5 separate regions of the Homo sapiens genome follow, and regions 2, 3, 4 and 5 are each linked to region 1. Evidence: promoter capture Hi-C in 16 types of primary human blood cells and fetal thymus (Javierre and others, 2016). All regions are on one chromosome and are shown on one strand. Each heading gives the region's core, a stretch centred on a gene start or on the middle of the fragment in contact. The rest is flanking DNA. Distances are from core to core; before and after follow the strand shown.

Evidence for each region. The method cuts DNA at HindIII sites, captures the fragments that hold promoters and counts their contacts. A CHiCAGO score of 5 or more calls a contact.
Region 2: a fragment that was not itself captured here is called in contact with the fragment with the promoter of LINC02690 in region 1 in 1 of 17 cell types (endothelial precursors); the score reaches 5.5 in endothelial precursors.
Region 3: a fragment that was not itself captured here is called in contact with the fragment with the promoter of LINC02690 in region 1 in 4 of 17 cell types (endothelial precursors, M2 macrophages, megakaryocytes and 1 more); the score reaches 9.7 in endothelial precursors.
Region 4: a contact is called between a fragment that was not itself captured here and the fragment with the promoter of LINC02690 in region 1, in 2 of 17 cell types (endothelial precursors and M1 macrophages). The highest score is 11.0, in endothelial precursors.
Region 5: a contact is called between a fragment that was not itself captured here and the fragment with the promoter of LINC02690 in region 1, in 2 of 17 cell types (endothelial precursors and M0 macrophages). The highest score is 12.1, in endothelial precursors.

What each region holds. Positions count from the first base shown.
Region 1 is chr11:45,750,009-45,753,609 of GRCh38, reverse strand. LINC02690 (long intergenic non-protein coding RNA 2690) reads left to right here and starts at 2,002. Exons shown (of 2, transcript NR_183774.1): 1 at 2,002-2,099; 2 at 2,402-2,790. The HindIII fragment of the contact is 8,573 bases long and covers 1-3,601 here.
Region 2 is chr11:45,328,491-45,332,091 of GRCh38, reverse strand. No RefSeq gene overlaps it. Among named protein-coding and RNA genes, the nearest start is that of LINC02696, 25 kb to the left of the region's middle. The HindIII fragment of the contact is 2,132 bases long and covers 699-2,830 here.
Region 3 is chr11:45,348,218-45,351,818 of GRCh38, reverse strand. No RefSeq gene overlaps it. Among named protein-coding and RNA genes, the nearest start is that of LINC02696, 5.4 kb to the left of the region's middle. The HindIII fragment of the contact is 5,570 bases long and covers 1-3,601 here.
Region 4 is chr11:45,393,364-45,396,964 of GRCh38, reverse strand. No RefSeq gene overlaps it. Among named protein-coding and RNA genes, the nearest start is that of LINC02687, 24 kb to the right of the region's middle. The HindIII fragment of the contact is 2,080 bases long and covers 682-2,761 here.
Region 5 is chr11:45,409,694-45,413,294 of GRCh38, reverse strand. No RefSeq gene overlaps it. Among named protein-coding and RNA genes, the nearest start is that of LINC02687, 40 kb to the right of the region's middle. RefSeq lists enhancers at 847-1,508, 1,509-2,169. The HindIII fragment of the contact is 1,735 bases long and covers 1,047-2,781 here.

The sequences.
Region 1 (3,601 bases), core at 753-3,252:
GCCACAGAGACCACTTGGGATTTTCTAGAGTACTGGAAGTTTTACTCTTCCTAGCCTTTGCTTTTGCCATTTCTTCAGCTAAAATGCCTTTCCTCCTTCTCCTGATGATGACATTTTCTGCAACCTGCAAGACCTAACTTCTTCCCACCCATCTTACTTCTCCTCTTCTCCCTTGATGCTCCTATTGTAAGTGCCTTTGTGCTTTTTTTTTTTTTTTTTTTTGAGACACAGTCTTGCTCTGTCATCTAGGCTGGAGTACAGTGGCACAATCAAGGCTCACTGCAACCTCCATCTCCTGAGTGTGAGAGATTCTCCTGCCTCAGCCTCCCGAGTAGCTGGGATTACAGGCACTGGCCACCATGCCCAGCTAATTTTTGTATTTTTAGTAGAGACGGGTTTTCACCATGTTGGCCAGGCTGGTCTCGAAATCCTGACCTCAAGTGATTCACCCGCCTTGACCTTCCAAAGTGCCGGGATTACAGGTATGAGCCACCGCGCCTGGCCTGTGCTGGTTTTTTTTTTTTTTTTTTTTTTGCATTGTATCATAACCAGTTAACGTACTTGATTTTCATCACTATAAATCCCATTGTATGACCAATCATCCCAAACATTTAGCATTTTCCTTAAGTTATAAAAGTAAACCAGGCGCGGTAGATCACTCCTGTAATCTCAGCACTTCGGGAGGCCAAGGCGGAGGATCGCTTGAAGCTAGGAGTTCAAGACTAGCCCTGGCAACATAGCGATAATCCGTCTCTACAAAAAATACAAAAACACTTTGGGAGGCCCAGGCGGGTGGATCACCTGAGGTTGGGAGTTCAAGACCAGCCTGGCCAACATGGCGATACCCTGTCTCTACTAAAAAATACAAAAATTAGCCAGGCGTGGTGGCGGGTACCTGTAATCCCAGCTACTCAGGAGGCTGAGGCACAAGAATTGCTTGAACCCGAAAGGCGGGGGTTGCAGTGAGCCGAGATAGTGCCACTGCACCCCAGCTTGGATGACAGAGTAATACTTCATTTCAAAAAAAGGAAAAAAAAACCCCCAAAAACAAAAAAACTAAACAAATACAAAAAATTAACTGGGCAGGTGGCACACACCTATAGTCCCAGCTACTCAGGAGGCTGAACTCAGGAGGCTGAGGGGAGGATTACTTGAGCCTGGAAGGTCAAGGCTGCAGTGAGCCGTGATGTGCCACTGCACTCCAGTTTGGGTGACAAAGCAAGAGCCCGTCTCTCTTGGGGGCGGGAGGGAAGCGCACTCTTGTAACATCTCCAAATGGTTGAGAAGTAAAGTGAAACGCCCCCCTTCTCTAACCCTATTGGTCAGTCCTGCGACTCCTGGGTAATGGCTGCTAATGGTTCCTTATGTGTTCTTCCGCCCGTACGCCTTTGCATTTTCAACGTGTATGCATGTACCAAAATTGATGTAACTGGCCTCCATTACGGGACATTTAGGTTGTTTTCCATTATCTACTGCTGTAAATAATGCTGCAAAGATCACCTTCAGATTCAAATATTTCTGCAGGCAGCGTCTTAGAAATGGGATTGCTGGGTCACAGAGAACATCCACTTAAAATTTTTAATGAACACTGCCAAACCGTCGTCAGGGAAGACTTCCAGCAAGTCTCGTACTGATGTGGAAATATCTGTTCTCCTCCTTTGAAAGTGGGTCTGGATCTTAATTTGTCGCTGTGGCCCTGGCATGTAGTAGGCTCAGTAAATGCTTGCTGAGTGACCCTACGGGTTATCAAGCCCTGGCTCTCTATTTTCTCAGAAAAAAAGCAGCCCTTCTGCCCCTAAAAAAAGTCTACAAAGTCAATCGTGAGACCAGACCTTGACCTGTTCCGTTTGGCGCTCTGGATTGCGGAGCATACCGAGGAGTCCTGGGTACTTTCTTTGTTAAGTGGGGTGTGTGTGGTTTTTGTTTTCAAAGCTGGCCTGGAGGCTCTGGGTTGCCATGGCAACTGATGAGCAGGGCCGCCTTTTCCCTTCCCTCCATCTTGGGAGCCCTGGTTGCCATAACAACTGATTGGTCCTCTCCTCTTCCTCCACCTCTGCCACAGGGCTCCAGCTTCCCTCTGGGGGCACCACTGTTCTTAGGTCTGGGGCAACCCTGATTTCACTTGACCCATGTACCTTGGGACCCTCTTGAGAGGAGATGTGAGCGAGGCCATTACTGGGGAGGGTGACGGCAGAAAACAGCATGGCCACTGGGAAGGGGAGAGGGCTCAGGTGGAGGAAGAGTGAGGTTCCCTGCTCCGACCTAGCTTGGGAGAATCAGTGTTGCCTGGGGACCAGAGGGGGAAGCAAGTTCCTCTGAGGTTCAGGGGTGGTTTTGGGGATCAGTGAGTTACAGGGACTGTGAGGTCTCAAGCATTCTTCCTCAACATTTCCTGTTGTAGATGGCAGAGCAGATGCAACGGCACCCCTGAGCTGCCCTCAGGGGGTCCTCAGCCTTGGAGGAGGCAGGAGACCTGGGCTATGGAGCCACTCACAGGCCCTACTGAGAACAACTTGGTGTCCATCACAGTCCTCTTCAGAATGCCCAGAATATGGGGATAAGAAGGTGAAACCGGCATGTTTATTAACACAATGGAATATTCTGTGGCCAAATCAAAGGAAGACGTTGAGGATTCTGGTGACACCTGGAAACGTACTGCTAAGGGAAAAAAGCAGGACCACAATGTTATGTGGATATTGACTGCGACTATATATAATGCCAGCGTGGACTTCTCAGAGATGGAATTTGGAGGAATGTAATACAGATGCAAATAGAGTTTTCCCCACATTGCCTTCTCCCGCGGTGTTTCTTCATCTCTGTCAACAGCCTTGCCACCTACTCTGTTGCCCAAACCAGAAACTTGATTCAAACTACACTTCTCCCTCTGCCCTCATGCCCCGTTCCTGTTAGTCACAAGTCCTGCTGGTTCCAGCTCTGAGACAGCTTTCAGAGTACTCCTCCTCCTGTTCCCACATTCACATCCCTAGGGGACTCTCTCCTCCCAGCGTGTCTGTTCCCCCGCATGCCCCCCACGCTCTGCTCCCCTGGCACCTCTGCCATGCTGCTGCCCCAGGGCAGATGTGGCCAAGGGGCTCCTCTCCTCCCACTCCTCGTTTGCTCCAGGATCAAGGACACACTTCTTGGCCCATTGAAGGCCCTTCCGGATCCACTTCCTTAGCCTAGGCTCTAGCTTCTCCCTGCTTGCAGCCATGCAGCAGGAGGCTCTCTTTATTCCTCTTTGCCTGTGAAGATAGCTGCCTCTGGCAGGAATACCCTTTGCTGCCTCATCTGCCTGGTCAACTCCTATCCCCCATTTCAGATTTTGCCCAAGACTTTCTAAGACAGTAGAAGAAAGGTTTCCACTCCTTTCCCCTCCTGAAAACTGTACAGAAACCACAGGAGAACAGGAATAGAAGCCTGAACTCCGTCTTTGGTGGAACATGGAGACCTCCCTACTCTTGAATCTCAATACGTGGAGGGGGAAGCTGCTGGAGGAGGATAAAGCGCTCAGCAGAGAGGAGAAACATCAAACCTCTGTACTTACCAGTGGGGAAGGCACTATAGAAATGAGCTGATTTTCTCTACAGAGACCCAGAAAGGG
Region 2 (3,601 bases), core at 515-3,014, 420 kb after region 1:
AATTCCAGGAATAAGGAACCACAAGAGGGAGACTTCTTGGCTTGTGCTAGAGCCTGGCAGACAAGGACCAGCAGCATGACTTAGTTGAGTCAGGGAAGGAAGGGGGTGTAAGAGACCTAATGTCATGATAATCATTAGCACTGAAGCTTCACTATGTACCGAGCTCTACGGAGCCGGTGCATTTGCTCATGCATCCTCCCCACAAATCTCTGCTTTGCAAACACAATTACTCCCATTTTATAGCCTCAGAGGGGTTGAGCCACTTGGCCAAGGCCATGCAGCCTGAAAGTGGTCTAGCTGGGACTTGAACCTGCACCTGTCTGACTCCAGCACCCAAACTCATCCTCACTATTCCAATTAAAGGCAGAGCTAATACTAAACCCCTGAGATCCCGTCTCGTGGCCAGGACTCTCTCCATAACCCTGTCCTTCTCTTGCCTTTGAGGAAAGCATACTTCACTGTCAGTTCTTCAGCCTGGGTGGCAGGGATGAAGGCAGAAGTTAAATAATAAAGAGGAAAAGGTTTTTTTCTAGAAATCAATGACTAAAGACTGGGAAGAGAATTCCTAAAACTCAAGTCAAGGACTGTCTCCTTTCGAAAACGGTGTGTACGAGAACATACGGCTCTCTGACCATCCACACAGACTCATGAGAAGGAGAGGAAGGACACCTCTCACTTCTGAACACTGCCTTGAAGCTTAGAGAAGTCAGATGTGACTCCCGAAGCTGAGCCGACATTCCAGGGCTCCTGGGAAATGTATCAAGTTGTGTGCAGTAGCATGGCTGCCCCACTATCTTCTGACTTTTGATGCATGGCCTGCCATTAGGGCACAGGCCTGTAGTGTTATCACTGGGGGCTGGGCTTTGGGGTACATGGAGAGCTTCAGGAAGAGGGAGGATGAAGAGTAAATCTGGGTTTCCTTCCTTAGCCTTGGTTCCCAGCCTCCCTCCTGCCTCTAGACCCTGGCATCCCCATGCTGGGTGTCAGTTTATCTCTTCTGTCCTGTTTCCTTCACCTGTCCAAACCCTTCTAGTCATCAAGGCATACCACCCCCAACCCCAGTCTCAAAGCTGCCACCAACATTCTCTCCAGGCCTCACAGTGTCTCTCTGCCCTCCACCCATTTGCTCATATAGTCTGGAGATAACAGAGGTCAGCATTTGTTCAGCAGAGGGAAAACACAGGCTTTGGCATTAGAAAACCCAGGCTTGAGTCCCTGGCCTCATGTTGGCAGGCTGCATGATCTTGGATGAATGACCACACCTCCCTGAGCTACCTCAGCCAGGCTCAGGGCTAGCTCAGGGTAGCAATGGTGAACAGTCCCTCCCTCAAAGAGCTACTGTTTTAATCTTCCCATCTGGAAGATGGACGTTGTAACAACCACTTCTCTGGCTGGTTGTGAGCATGAAGAAAAGAGGCATACAAGGAACTACTTTTGAATTTCAATGTTCCATCCCAGTTTTATTTTCCCCAACAGTTACTTCACGGTTGCCTTGTTTTTCTCATCTGCAAAATGGGGACAAATGCCTACTTATTTTAGGCACATTCCAGCAGTCTAGCAGAGCAGGAGGCATCACAGACTGTGGCTGGGAGGATGGTCTCTGGGGTCATTCTAACTGGTTTTTCATCTTGGTGCTGCTTTTTCCTGCCTTTGGGACCCTGGACAAGTTATCCAAGCCCTGTGCCTCAGTTTCCTAATCTATAAAATGGAAGATGACTGTGTCTATTTTCCAGAGTTGATGGGAGACTCCTCTATTTCCTTTGGGTGGTGTAACAAATTACTATAAACTGGGTGGCTTATAACAACAGAAAATTACACACTCACAGTTCTAGAGGCTAGAAGTCTGAAATCAGGGTGTCGGCAGGGCTGCACTCCCTCCAAACGCTATAGAGAAAATCTAGGCTGGGTATGGTGGCTCACACCTGTGATCCCAGCACATTGGGAGGCCAAGGCAGGTGGATCACCTGAGGTCAGGGGTTCGAGACCAGCCTGACCAATATGGGGAAACCCCATCCCTACTAAAAATACAAAAATTAACTGGGCGTGGTGATGTGCATCTGTAGTCCCAGCTACTTGGGATGCTGAGACAGCAGAATTGCTTGAACCCGGGAGGCGGAGGTTGCAGTGAGCTGAGATCGTGCCGCTGCATTCCAGCGTGGGCGACACGCTGTCTCGAAAAAGCAGCGAGACTCTGTCTTGAAAAAGCAGCGAGACTCTGTCTCGAAAAAAAAAAAAGAAAAAGAAAAAAGAAAATCTATTCTTGCCTTTTTGTGTTCCTTGGGTTGTGGCTGCAGAACTCCAATCTTTGTCCCTCTGTCTCTTCTTCATGGATCCCTTATAAAGGCACTTGTCATTGGATAGAGAGCCCACCTAGATAACACAGTATGACTCCAACCCAGGATTCTTAATTATATCACCAAAGATCAATTTTCCAAATATGATCATATTCACAGGTTCTGGGCATTAGGACACAGATGTATCTTTTGGGGGCCACCATTCTACCCACTCTAGAAGCCAAATAATGAATCCATGTAATGGGGTCAGCACAGAGCCAGGCACACTGGAAGTGCTCCATTGATAAGAGCTACTACTGTTGCACATCTAGAAATTGTGCCTGAAGTTTAACTCTAGAAATTGGACCCACACAAGAACAGAAACCCAAGTGTAGAAAGATTGGGTCCTTCTGTCCCTGTAGGCCTCTAGGGCTGTTGGCCCAACTTGTAGCACTGCATTTCCCAACTTAACCAGACTGATTTCAGCTTTGAGATTCCTCAAATTCTCTCTCTGTTCTGAACAGGCTTTTGTTGAAGCCCCTTATTATTGCAAAGCTTGCGTTTTGCTCCATTAAAAGCAGTCTGAAGGTGACAGCCAGTCAGAGGTTGAGAACAGGGTACCTGGCAGGAGGGAGAGAAATGTCCAGCCAAGGCAGTCCTGATGGCTCAGCCTCATGTTGGATCTCAGGCTGAAGTCAGTTTGGTTGCATCAGGGAATGCCAAGCATCAGGTTTAAGGGTCAAGGCAGGTTTTCACTGAAAAGAAAGGAGACTGCTTTCATCCTGAGTGAGAGTCAGTTCTGTGGCCGAGCTGGATGGGGTGTGTACAGGTGTTGGGGTGACATCTGGTTGGAGAAAGGATAGGAAAAAGAATGGCCTGGGTCGAGGAGAAGGGCAAGGAGGCTGCAAAGGTGGAGAGAGACCGAGGGAGCCCAGACTTTTCTTCAGACTTTACAGCAGCTTTGTGGAAGAGAAGGACCACAGGACTGCTCAGAGCCTCAGTTTTCTCAGCTGTGAAATGGGATCACAGTGGGACCTGTGCCTTCAGGACTTAGCACATTGCAAGTACACAGGCAGTGCTAAGTGATGCCTATTGATACTCCCACCAGCATCAAAAGGAACAAAAGGGCAGCCAAGGCCCTTTAGGGGTGACTGGTTCAGATCTAGGCAGCAGAAGGACCTGATCTCCAAGCTTGACCTGCCTGTGTCTGGGCTGGAAATGAAGCCAGAGGGGCAAACTTACAGTGTGCGGAAAGCAGAGAGGGGAGGTCTTTGTGCTGATGGAGAGTTGGTTCTTAAACCCCACAAAGCGTGTTCTGTTCCACAGTT
Region 3 (3,601 bases), core at 1-2,500, 400 kb after region 1:
AAACCTTGCTGATCATCTTGTCTCTTACTGCAAACTTGTTTTCCATTTTGAAGAGCAGTGGGATGTTAACGCTCTTTCATAGGGAAATGTCTTTTGTGAAAGTGGAACAAGAGGCCAGCTTTAGAAATGCATCAGGGCTTCTGCTTCCAGGAAAATGGAGTAAATGTACTTTCTCTTCTTCCTCCCACAAAGTGCAACTAAAACCCCTGGGCATTATACAAAAAACAAACATAAGAAGACTTAGAAAGGTGGAATGACTAGGAACCTTGTGATCTAAGGAGCACCATGCTGGCAAATTTTCTGGGTTTTCCTTTGCCTCATATATTCCAAACCTAGAGCTGAGGAAGCCAGTGACCCAGTAATGCTAACGGCATCAGACAAAAAAAAAAAAAAAGTCCCAAGAAAAGCCACCTTTCTTAAGATAAAGGACTAAGAATGGGGCAACTTAGCAAGACAGAAGGCTTTTGGACAATAACTGCTTGACTCCAGCCAAAGACCACCAACAAAACAAACAAAAAAGTACTTCCCCTGTATCTGCTGATATCTATCTAAATGTTTGTAGAGGAAATATTTAAGACAATTATAAGTGGGAGAAGGTAAAGGGATATAGAGGATGGTAAAAATTTCTCCACTGCATTCAAATTGGTAAAATGATGACCCCAGAGAATGCGATATTATGTATATATTAAATGAAATACCTAGAGCAACCACTAAAAAGAATATACAGAAAGACACTCAAAAACACTAGATAAATAAAAATGAGATTCAACAAAAAAGTTAAAATAACTCACAGGAAGGCAAGAAAGAGAAAACAGAAATGAGAATAGAAAATACAAAATGGTAGACTTAAACCTTAACATATCAATAATTACATTAAATGTCAATGGTCTAAATACACCAATTAAAACACACAGATTGGCAGAGTAGAGGAAAATGATGACCTAGCTACATGCCACCTGTAAGAAATTCTCACTTCAAATTTAACAATATAGGCAGATTGAAAGTGAAAGGATGGAAAAAATATATCATGCAAACAATCAAAGTGGGAGTAGCTATATTAGCATCAGATAAGGTAAATTTCAGGGCAAAGAAAATTACCAGAGATAGAGAACAATGTGACAAAATGATAAAAGGGTCAATCCATCAAGAAGAAATATCAACCCTAAATGTGTACACACCAAATAACAGCTGCAAAATATGTGAAGCAAAAAATAGATACGTTAAAAGGAGAACTGGACAAATCCACACCCCTCTCTCAATAATTAATGGGACAGCTAGACAGAAAATCAGCAAGGATATAGAAAAATTCAGCAACACTATCAATCAAAATGATCTTATCAGCATTCATAGAATGCTCCACCTGACAACAGAAGGTATGTTCTTTTTAAGTGCCCAGGGAACATACTCCAAAAATCGACCACATTCTGGGCTATGAAACAGACTTTAACGCATTTGAAAGAGTTAAAATCATACCAAGTGTGTTCTCTGACCACTGTGGAATCAAATTAGAGAACGGCAACAGAAAGATGACAGTAAACTCACCCAAACAGGTGGAAACTAAGCAACACGTTTCTAAATATTCCATGGGTCAAAGTGGAAGTCTCAAGGGAAACAAAAGAATATGCTGTACTGGATGAAAATGAAAATAAGCATATCAAAATTTGTAGAAGAGAGCTAAGCAGTGCTGAGGGAAATTTATAGCACTAAATGCATAGCATACATTAGAAGAAAGGAAAACTCTCATCAACAATCTTAGCTCCCAACTACAGTACCTAGAAAAAGAAAAGCAAATTAAACCCATAACAAGCTGAAAGAAAGAAATAATAAAGAGCAAAGTCAAGAAATAGAAAGCAATAAAACTATTAAAGCAACTAAAAAAAAAGAGCTGGTTTTTTGAAAATATTTTCTAAAGGATAAAACTCTAGCAAGACAGACAAAAAAGAAGAATATTAGGTAACATTCTAATATCACCAATATTAGGAATGAAACAGAGGATATTACTACAGGTTCTCCAGAATAAGCAAGATAATAAAGGAATACAGTTGACCCTCTTCAGGAGGATGAAGGCACACACTCTCAAGTCAGGCTGCCAGATGAGCCATTACAACATGGCATGTTGTAATGAGGTAACATTTGGGAATGATGGATATGTTCATTATCTGGATTATGGTAATGGTTTCATGAGAGTATACATATGCCAAAACTTATTAAATTGTATGTTTTTAAGTGTTCAGCTTATTGTAGGTCACTTAAATAAAGGTTAAAAGAAAGCATTATCAAATCTTAATCTTTGCCATATGTATTTATTTCAGATTCTCCACTTACAAACACAGATCATTTTTTTATCCCAAACCTATTTTCCCCCATTTCCTATATATAAGCACTAGGAAATTGAATTTGGTGTTTTTGATCCCCACGCATAATTTTCTATATTAGTGCAGAAGTCTTTATAAACATTATATAACATAGTTTTGTATTACTTAATATTGTACATAAATGAAGTATCTATCATTCTGTAATTTGCTTTCTTTGTTTAACATATTTATGAATAAATTACATAACTTTAACAAAAACTTAAGGGAGGTATTATTACCATTTTACAGATGGAGAGAGAAACTGAGGTTCACCCTGATTAGGTGAACCATTTCTTGCCAAAGGTGATTATGAAGCCAGGATTGAGCCAGGTCTGACCTGGGTCAAAGCCAGAGCTTTAAACAGTGACCACAGGTACTTTGGGGGAGATTTTCCTCAAGGGCTCCCTTGTTTGTGCTTCCTGGGATTGTCATGAGCAGCACCCTTCCAGGCAATTTGCTCTTCTAGACTGTTCTAGACCACACTGGTTTGTCTGGCTACCTGGCATTCAGGTTGGGTCAGGCATTGCTTTGCCATATCCAGCTGTACTTTGCCGGGATCAAAGATAGTACCTTTGCCCTGCCTTGCTCCTTCTATTAATACTACTCCCTGGTCTAAATAAGGCCTGCCTTTTTTTGTCTAGATAGGGCTTCTTAACCTCTTTCATGTCAGGGATACCTCTGGCAGGGAAGCCTAGGGGCACCTTGGAATAAAACTTTTTAAATGCTGAAGACACATATGATTACAGCCTTATTGAAATACAAAATATATTTTAAAATGGTGATTGAATCATACATATGCTCCTTTTTTTTTTTTTTTGAGATGGAGTCTCCCTCTGTCACCCAAGCTGGAGTGCAGTGTTGCGATCTCAGCTCACTGCAACCTCTGCCTCCTGGGTTCAAGTGATTCTCCTGCTTCAGCCTCCAGAGTAGCTGTGATTACAGGTTCCTGCCACCATGCCTGGCTAATTTTTGTATTTTTAGTTGAGACAGGGTTTCACCATGTTGACTAGACTGGTCTCGAACTCCTGACCTCAAGTGATCTGCCTGCTTCAGCATCCCAAAATGCTGGGACTACAGGCGTGAGCCACCATACCTGGCCGATATATGCTTCTTTATTTATGCTTTTATGTTACAAGGTCTAATAGTGGATCTAATTGCCAATTTTGCTGCACAGATGAGCCTGAGCTTGATTTCAACATATCTGTAGCAACTGTAATACATGAAAATGTCGGTGATTTCTATTGGTG
Region 4 (3,601 bases), core at 472-2,971, 360 kb after region 1:
GCATCTCTTCCATCTGGCTGTTTCATTATTCTCTACATTAGACACATACACTTTATATGTGCTTCTTCATATTTCATAACAAAGCAAATGAAAGAAAAAAATCAATGAATCTTCCTTTTACCATTAAAATTATCTGATGAAATCCATGGACCCTATTCCCAAACAATTAGAAAAAGATCCAGACATTTCATTTGAATGCAGAGGGCTCATAGACCCCTTGAAGATCCTCTATGGGAAGATTCCACATCTGGTGTTACAGTTGATTTACACCCCCGTAAATCCCTGAGGCAGTGGCCATCTTTATCCAGAGCAGCAATGTGGCCCAGGAAACAAACAATCTGGGCTGGGATGGTCCAGTGACGTCAGAACCAAGCCCGCACCCCTAAAGAGGAACTCTGCACGTAGGCAGATCCCCCACAGCCAACCCTAGCCCCCTTTCCTCCCTACTTGGAGCATTTCCAGCTCCCAAGATCCCAGGATCCTCCCTCTGCCTCCTCCAGGGCCACAGCTTTGGCCATCACATCTAGCTGCTGGGCCCTCTGCAACATAAAAAAGCATAATCCTTTGGGGAAGAGGAGTGTAAGGAAACACCAGAAGGTAGCTAATTACTTGTGTTACAAATAGTAATCTTGCTTTTTAAACCTTAGGAAGATAATGATCTGTTTTTAGTGTATTAAAGCTTAATTGTTTAAGTGAGGGAATAAAAATCAGCTTCAAAACAGGGGGAGCCTAGAAGCAGAAGAAACGTCCTTGGAAGCAGTGTTGTGAGCTAGAACGAGAGGACTCGCCATGTGGCTTCGGGGAAAACACTTCCTCCCTCTGGGCTTCAGTTGCCCATCTGTTCAATGGAGGAGTTGCACTTCTAGAAGATGCCTAAGTCATCTGCACTCCTGATGTCGCAGGGTTCTCTGGTCACCAGCTTCATTTCTCTCTGCTCTGGAACTGTGCCAGACAAGCATGGAGGCTTCCTTATAACCCAGTGCCTGACACATGGTAGGTGCCCAACTAATAGTGTTGTTGACTTGTACTGCGCTTACTCTTGTTCCCTAGTCCTCACACAGCCTATCACAGACACGAGCCTTTAGCTGGTCCTCAATACTGCTTTCCTCACCTCTAAAATGGGTAGAACCATGTAGGGCCAATGTGAGAATTAGATAAAGTATGTGCAAGCCCCTTGCCCAGTGCCTAGCACACACTAGGTACAATTTAAATGGTTCCCATCTTTTTTGTCCTTGTTCATCATTCACCTGAAAAAGTTTGTCTGTTCTGGCTAATCCCGGCCTGCTCCCTACAAACAGAGACACACGCACGCACACACACACACACGCAGACACATACTCTTTCTCATGGAGCAGCTGCTTCCTCCCCAGGACTGACCATCATCCCACTGATGTCCAGACAGTGCTGGGCAGCCAGGCACTGACTAGGCCAGTTACTGCGGATGGTCAAGAACTGCTGGTGGAAATGGAAGGCTAAGGCTCTACACCTCTCTGGATTCCCCAAGAGCCTCCGTGTGTTAGACACAGCCACCAGGGTGACTGGGGCCCCCAACACCTGCACAACACCACATCTCCCTCAGGCCAAGGTCCACAAATGTGAAGTCAAAAAGTGAGGGCGATTCTGACTGAGGAGTGTCTCTTGGACGGTGTTGGCTGTTAAGTAAGGTCAGAGGTGGGGGATAGGGAGAGAAGGCCAGAGAGAGAAGAGAGGAGGAAGGAAGAGGAAGAGGAGAAAGGTGGAAGGGAGGTACAGAGTGGAGGAGGAAAGACAGAGACGGAGGGAAGAAAAGAAGCAGGAGAGAGAGATGGGGCATAGAAAGTGGAAAAGGGAACTTCAGGTCCTGGGGTGAGGGCTTTGGACACATTTGAATTTTAAATCAGCAGCTTCCCTTGGCCTGTCCCCCTGATTTGGCCTGGTTCTAGGAGGCTGATCAAGAAAGTGAATCTCCTATGACCTCCATATGAGACTGATTGTTGGCTGGGGCTGCCCACTGCTTTTCTCACACTCAAGGAGAGACCCACACTCAGTCTCCTGGGGTATAGACCACTGAAGCCCAGGGACCAGGGCTCCCCATCTGAATGGTCAGAGGGAGGCTGCTGCAGCCCCAGCCCCAGCCCCTGCCAGGTGGCCCTCCCCATATAGGCTTCCGGGTGGTCACTGGGATGACTGTCACCAGCCCTGGGCACCGAATTGTCCCTTGAGATTTTTCTACACCCACCCAGATCTTTGGAAATAGTCCTTTTAAAAACTCCCTTCCAATTACCCAATTTGAATGAGCTTGTTTCCTGCCAGGACCAATCTGAAACAAACACAGAGTTTATAATCCTCATGTTAGCCCTGCTTCCAGGTCATCCCATTTCCAGATAAGGAAACTAAAGCCCAGAAGGTCAGAGATGGGGAGTGACTTGTCCGAAGTTGCGCAGCTAGGGGTTGGGGAGCGGGGACTGGAACCTGCCCAGCTGGGTGTTTACATTGCTCAGGCTTTAGAGAGACCGGGTGGTTCAGCAAAGGTGGACCAGGCCGGAGGTCAGGAAGGACTAAAGTTAACACTGCCCCTGCCTGTCTGGGTTCTCCTTATGCTGGAACCTCAGAGGCAGCCAGGAAACCCGCCTTCCTCACTCCCCACATCCACTACCCTCTACCCTCTGTGCCCACAACCAGTGCCTGAGGTCAGACACTCTCATTCCCTTCCTCGTGGGCATGGCCAAAGCCTCCTGGCCGGCCTCCTGCCTCCATCAGCCTCACTACAGTGGGAAAAGCTTTTCTAGAGGGATCTTTCTGGCTCACTCTGACGCTCCTCCTTCCTAGGATCTGTCTCTGCATCCCTAGTGCCTGTGGGACAAAGTCCAAAATCCTTTGGTATCAGAACCCTTCCCAGCTGGCCTTCTACACCTTGCAGTTCGGCTGTGCCCTGCCCTTCTGCACCTCCATGCCTTTCGGCAGACCTTCTCCACCCCCGGCAGCGCCCTTCGGAGTCCTCTGTTCCCCATCAATGTCCACGTGTCCCTCAAGATCCAGCCAAAGCGTGGTGCAGGGGAGGGTCTCCTTAGTTCTGCCTCCACCCCGTCTCCCCTGCCCCCGACACACACAAAGACCACCCCTCCCACTGTTGTCCCCTCGCAGAATCTGTGTTCTTGCTTCTGGTGCAGTATTTTTTTTCCTCTGCTGTCTCAACTCCCTCAGAGAATGAACCATGGCTATACATCCAGAATAATCCATGGCTCTCCGGGCCTGGCATCATAATTGCATTGTGTCTTTCTCTCTTGCCATGGCACAAGCTTCTGAAGGACAGGAATGTATCTTCATCCTCCAGACCTCCAGGCCTGAGGGCAGGGCCTAGTCCCCAACAGCGCTAAATACATTTTCCCTAGCTGAGCCACTGAGGACGGGTGATCCTTGACTGCATGAGTGAGGAGTCTTTGGGCCTGTGGCTGCTGTGCAGCCTTGGGCAAGCACCTGAGTCTCTCTGTGCCCATTTCCGTTTCCTTACGTCTGGGGAGTAAGATCTGCTGCTTGCTCATAAACATTTAGCTATCCTTTTCCTCCCTTTCCTCAGAGCCCAGGCCCTCTCGGAAGGGCTCAGACACTTGTATTTTATGTG
Region 5 (3,601 bases), core at 665-3,164, 340 kb after region 1:
CACTTAGTCTTCCTTAACCGCCATAGCAGTCCTATGAGGTAGGTATCATTAGTCACATTTAACAGATAGGGAAGCAAGCTCAGAGATAGGAGTAAACTTGTTCTGGGGCGTTTAGCTGTAAGTGGGCAGAGTGAGGGTTTGAACCCAGGTCTGTGTGACTCCAAGGCAGGTTGACATTTGCACCTGGCACATGGTGGGCCTTTGTCCATATGGGCTATTTTCTTTCTTTTCTCAAATATACAAATAATGATAATCCCAAGCAGGACAAGTGAAGTGTTTTTTGTTTTTTGTTTTTATTTTTAATCTGGGCTACAGACCAGACCAGTGGTAGGCAGGGATGTCAGTGAGGTGGTGCAGTGCAGCCCACCTGGAAGGTGTTGGGAGGGCTGGGTGAAGGAGTGGAGGGGGCATTTGAACTGGGAATTTAAAAGCCACTGAAGGTCTCTGAGAAGGAAAGTGATCAGACCAGAGCAGGAAAGAATCAGCAGGGGAGGGGAGGTAAACAGGAGGTGGTAAGCCCAGTCGGGAGGTTACTGCAATAGTCCAGGCAGGGAGGAGGGGCAGGCAGGTGACAAGCTGCACACAGGGCCATACAGGCATCCAGGGCAGCCCCTGCACCCAGCTACCTTTCTGCTGGAAGGCCGTTTTCACAAGGCAGCCGGAAGCACTCCCGGGTAATCTCGTCTGGAGATGACTGCATTTCATTATAATTTAAGCCTTTCTTGGGCTTCATCAAAGGCTATGAGTGTCTTGAAAAAGAGAAGCATCTCTTTCCTCAGGTAAGGGGAAAACACGCCAGAGCTTTCTCTTCTAATATAAACTAGACAAGGAGATGCAGCTGAGCTTGGCAGAGCCTGCCGGAGAACGCTAATAGACTCGACGAGGGAAGAATTATAGAAAGAGACAGCTCCAGAGGGTGGTGGGGCAGGAAGAGAAAGAGGCCCCGAGACTGCCAGCCCCAGGTGGGCTAGTAAGGAGCTGGATCAGTGTCAGCAGATGTGGCCCGAGGGCCTGCATAGACTCAGCATCTCATCTGGCGAGAAGCTTCTCTGCCTGGAGACCAGAGAGATAAGACCCCTCGCCCCTAGCATCCTTCCGGCTGGTTTCCAGTGATCCCATTAATTATGGAGGCTCGGGGACTGGAGTGGAATCCTTAGCGTTTCCTGTATGGGAGCTCTCAGTGGGGGAGGATGGAAGTGACCTAGAAACATTTAGCCCGGGGAAAAAAATAACCCAAGCAGGTTTGACACTCCCACCTGAGGCTGGGAAGGGGTTGGGGGCTATCATGTGTATATGAGTGTTTTAAGATATTATCTCAGACAGTTTGATGTCCCATGAAACATTAAGAAGGTGTTTTGCTTTTTAAAAATCAGATTATTTTCCTTTTGCCTTTAATAAAAACCAGCACTGGTCTCTGACTCACAGGCTTAAAACAGCCTTCACTGGTTACCGAGGATGGGATTTCAGCAGTGGCACAGGCTGGAACGGTTCTCAAATAGGAAATCGAATACTGGGAAGACAAAGGAGGGGAGAGGGAAGAGGGGAGGGAGAGGCAGAGCAAGAAATAAATTTGGAGTTAATGCTGAGTGAGGGAGGGCTTCACTGCTGGCTCCCCGGGTGCTCCTGAAAGGCTGCTCAGCCCCAGGAGTGAGCAAAGCAGGAGTTCTTGGCTCCATCCTGGCAGCCCATTTGTCCCCTGCCAGCCAGCCCTCCGGACCACAGGGCTACTCTTCCCAGCTTGTGAGGGAAGCGTCCTCTGTATCAGAGGCCTTTGAATCTTAAGCAAATGCCCTGTCACACAGGAGAGAGGCTGTAACCTCCCCCAGGGAGGGCACGGTCACTCAGAGTTGATATGGTGGCTACAAGGCTGATGGTCACCAGTCATCAGGGCCTGGGAGGCAGGGTGGGAGGCAGGGTGGGAGGCAGGGCAGGAGGTCAGGTGAGAGGTGGGAGAATGGGGAAGGGGGAAGGTGAGGATTGTAAGAGAAGGTGGTCCCTGCTCTAGTCTCTCTCTCTTTCTCTCTGTGTTTGCCTTGCTTTGTCTTTCTCTTCTATCTTCCTCTCAGTCTCTGGATCATTTTATCTTATGGTCTCTCTCATTCTTTGTCTCCATCCCTCTTTCTCTGTCTGAATCTTTTCCTCATTTCAGAAAAATGGCTGAACTTGTTAAGCCAGAGATCAAACACCCCAGCGGGCTGAGTGCGGACAAGGGAACACGGCTTTAACATCTGCTGCTCTCTTTCTGTGCGACACAGAGGGCTCCCCACAGAGAGGAAGGGCAGGGAGGTGGAGGCGGGGTGTGGGTGAGAATTCCTGCAAACCTTGGCATTGTCCTGGTCGGGGGTCGGGTTGGGAGGGGTGATAAGGACAAGGGAAGGGAAATCGGACAAGAGACAGACCCACATGCTGACCAGGGTACTCACAGACAGACAGGGAAGGCCCCCACCTCGAGGGAGGAAGCAGATCCAGTGAGGGCCACCATGCCCCAGGGGAGTCAGGGGCTCTGAAGCTGCTGCCTGACAACCTCTGCACTTTGCACAGAGTGAAAGGAAATTTATAGGAGTGAAGGACGTGGACTAAAGCCCTCTGAACTAGCAGCATTAAGAATGTCATTTCAGCAAGTCCTCCTAACAGCCCTGCCAGGGTACTCTTCCTGCCCTAAAGATGCGTGAAGTCACCAGGCCAGGAATGTATGCAGTGCCCCTGGCCAGGGAGGTGCAGGGCTGACTCCTTGGCCTGCACTTTTTCCAGCCATACTTATTCCTGCAGAAGATGGAAGCTTGTCTTGCAGCAGGTTCAGAATAAAGGCAATTGGGTGAGGGCGCAGCCTTGGTCTGAACCTAAAGGGAGAAGATGGAGGGACAGAGGGTGTCCAAGCCTGCTGAGAGGACCTGCCCTCCAGGGTTGCCTTTCAGAGGCAGGTTGGGAATGTAGCTCCCTGGGCCCAGGCTCATTCTGAGAGACAGGTCATTCTGTTGCTCTGAGGAAAGGGAAGGGAAGGAGGAAATGAGAGAGGGAGAGAAAGACAGGGAGAGAGAGAGAAGCACAGTCTTCCCACTTCTTTCTGCCCTCTTCCTGGAATGCGGACCTGCCAGTCGCCAGAAAGAAAAGAGAATATTTGATCAATCTATTGAGCTTACTGTGTGCCTGTGCCAGGCATGGTCACAGACAAGCTCTTTTCTCACCATCACAACAATCCCATCCCTATTTTACGGAGCAGTAAACTGAGGCAAGAAGAGCTTAAGCAATTTGCTCAAGCTCCCAGAGCTGGTAAGCAGCAGAGCCATGGTCCTCATGCACAGCCCCCACTTGCATATTTTCCTGGGCCCCAGTTCATCTCTCTCTCTCTCTTCTCCAAACATAAAGCCTGGAGCAATGAGCAATGCAGGCAGGCCCTGCTAGGGCAGTGCCACAGGGAGAGGAGAAGATAGAGGACAGAGCTGGCCCACACACAGTATCACAGCAGCCTGCAGAGGTGTCATTTTTAACAGCAGCAGCCTGTCTATGCCTCTCCTCTGCCAGCTCTCGATGACATCAGGCCCCTTCTCCAGGGAGCATGACTCAGGTCGAGTGCGATTGTGGTCAGTGGGGCACACGGATA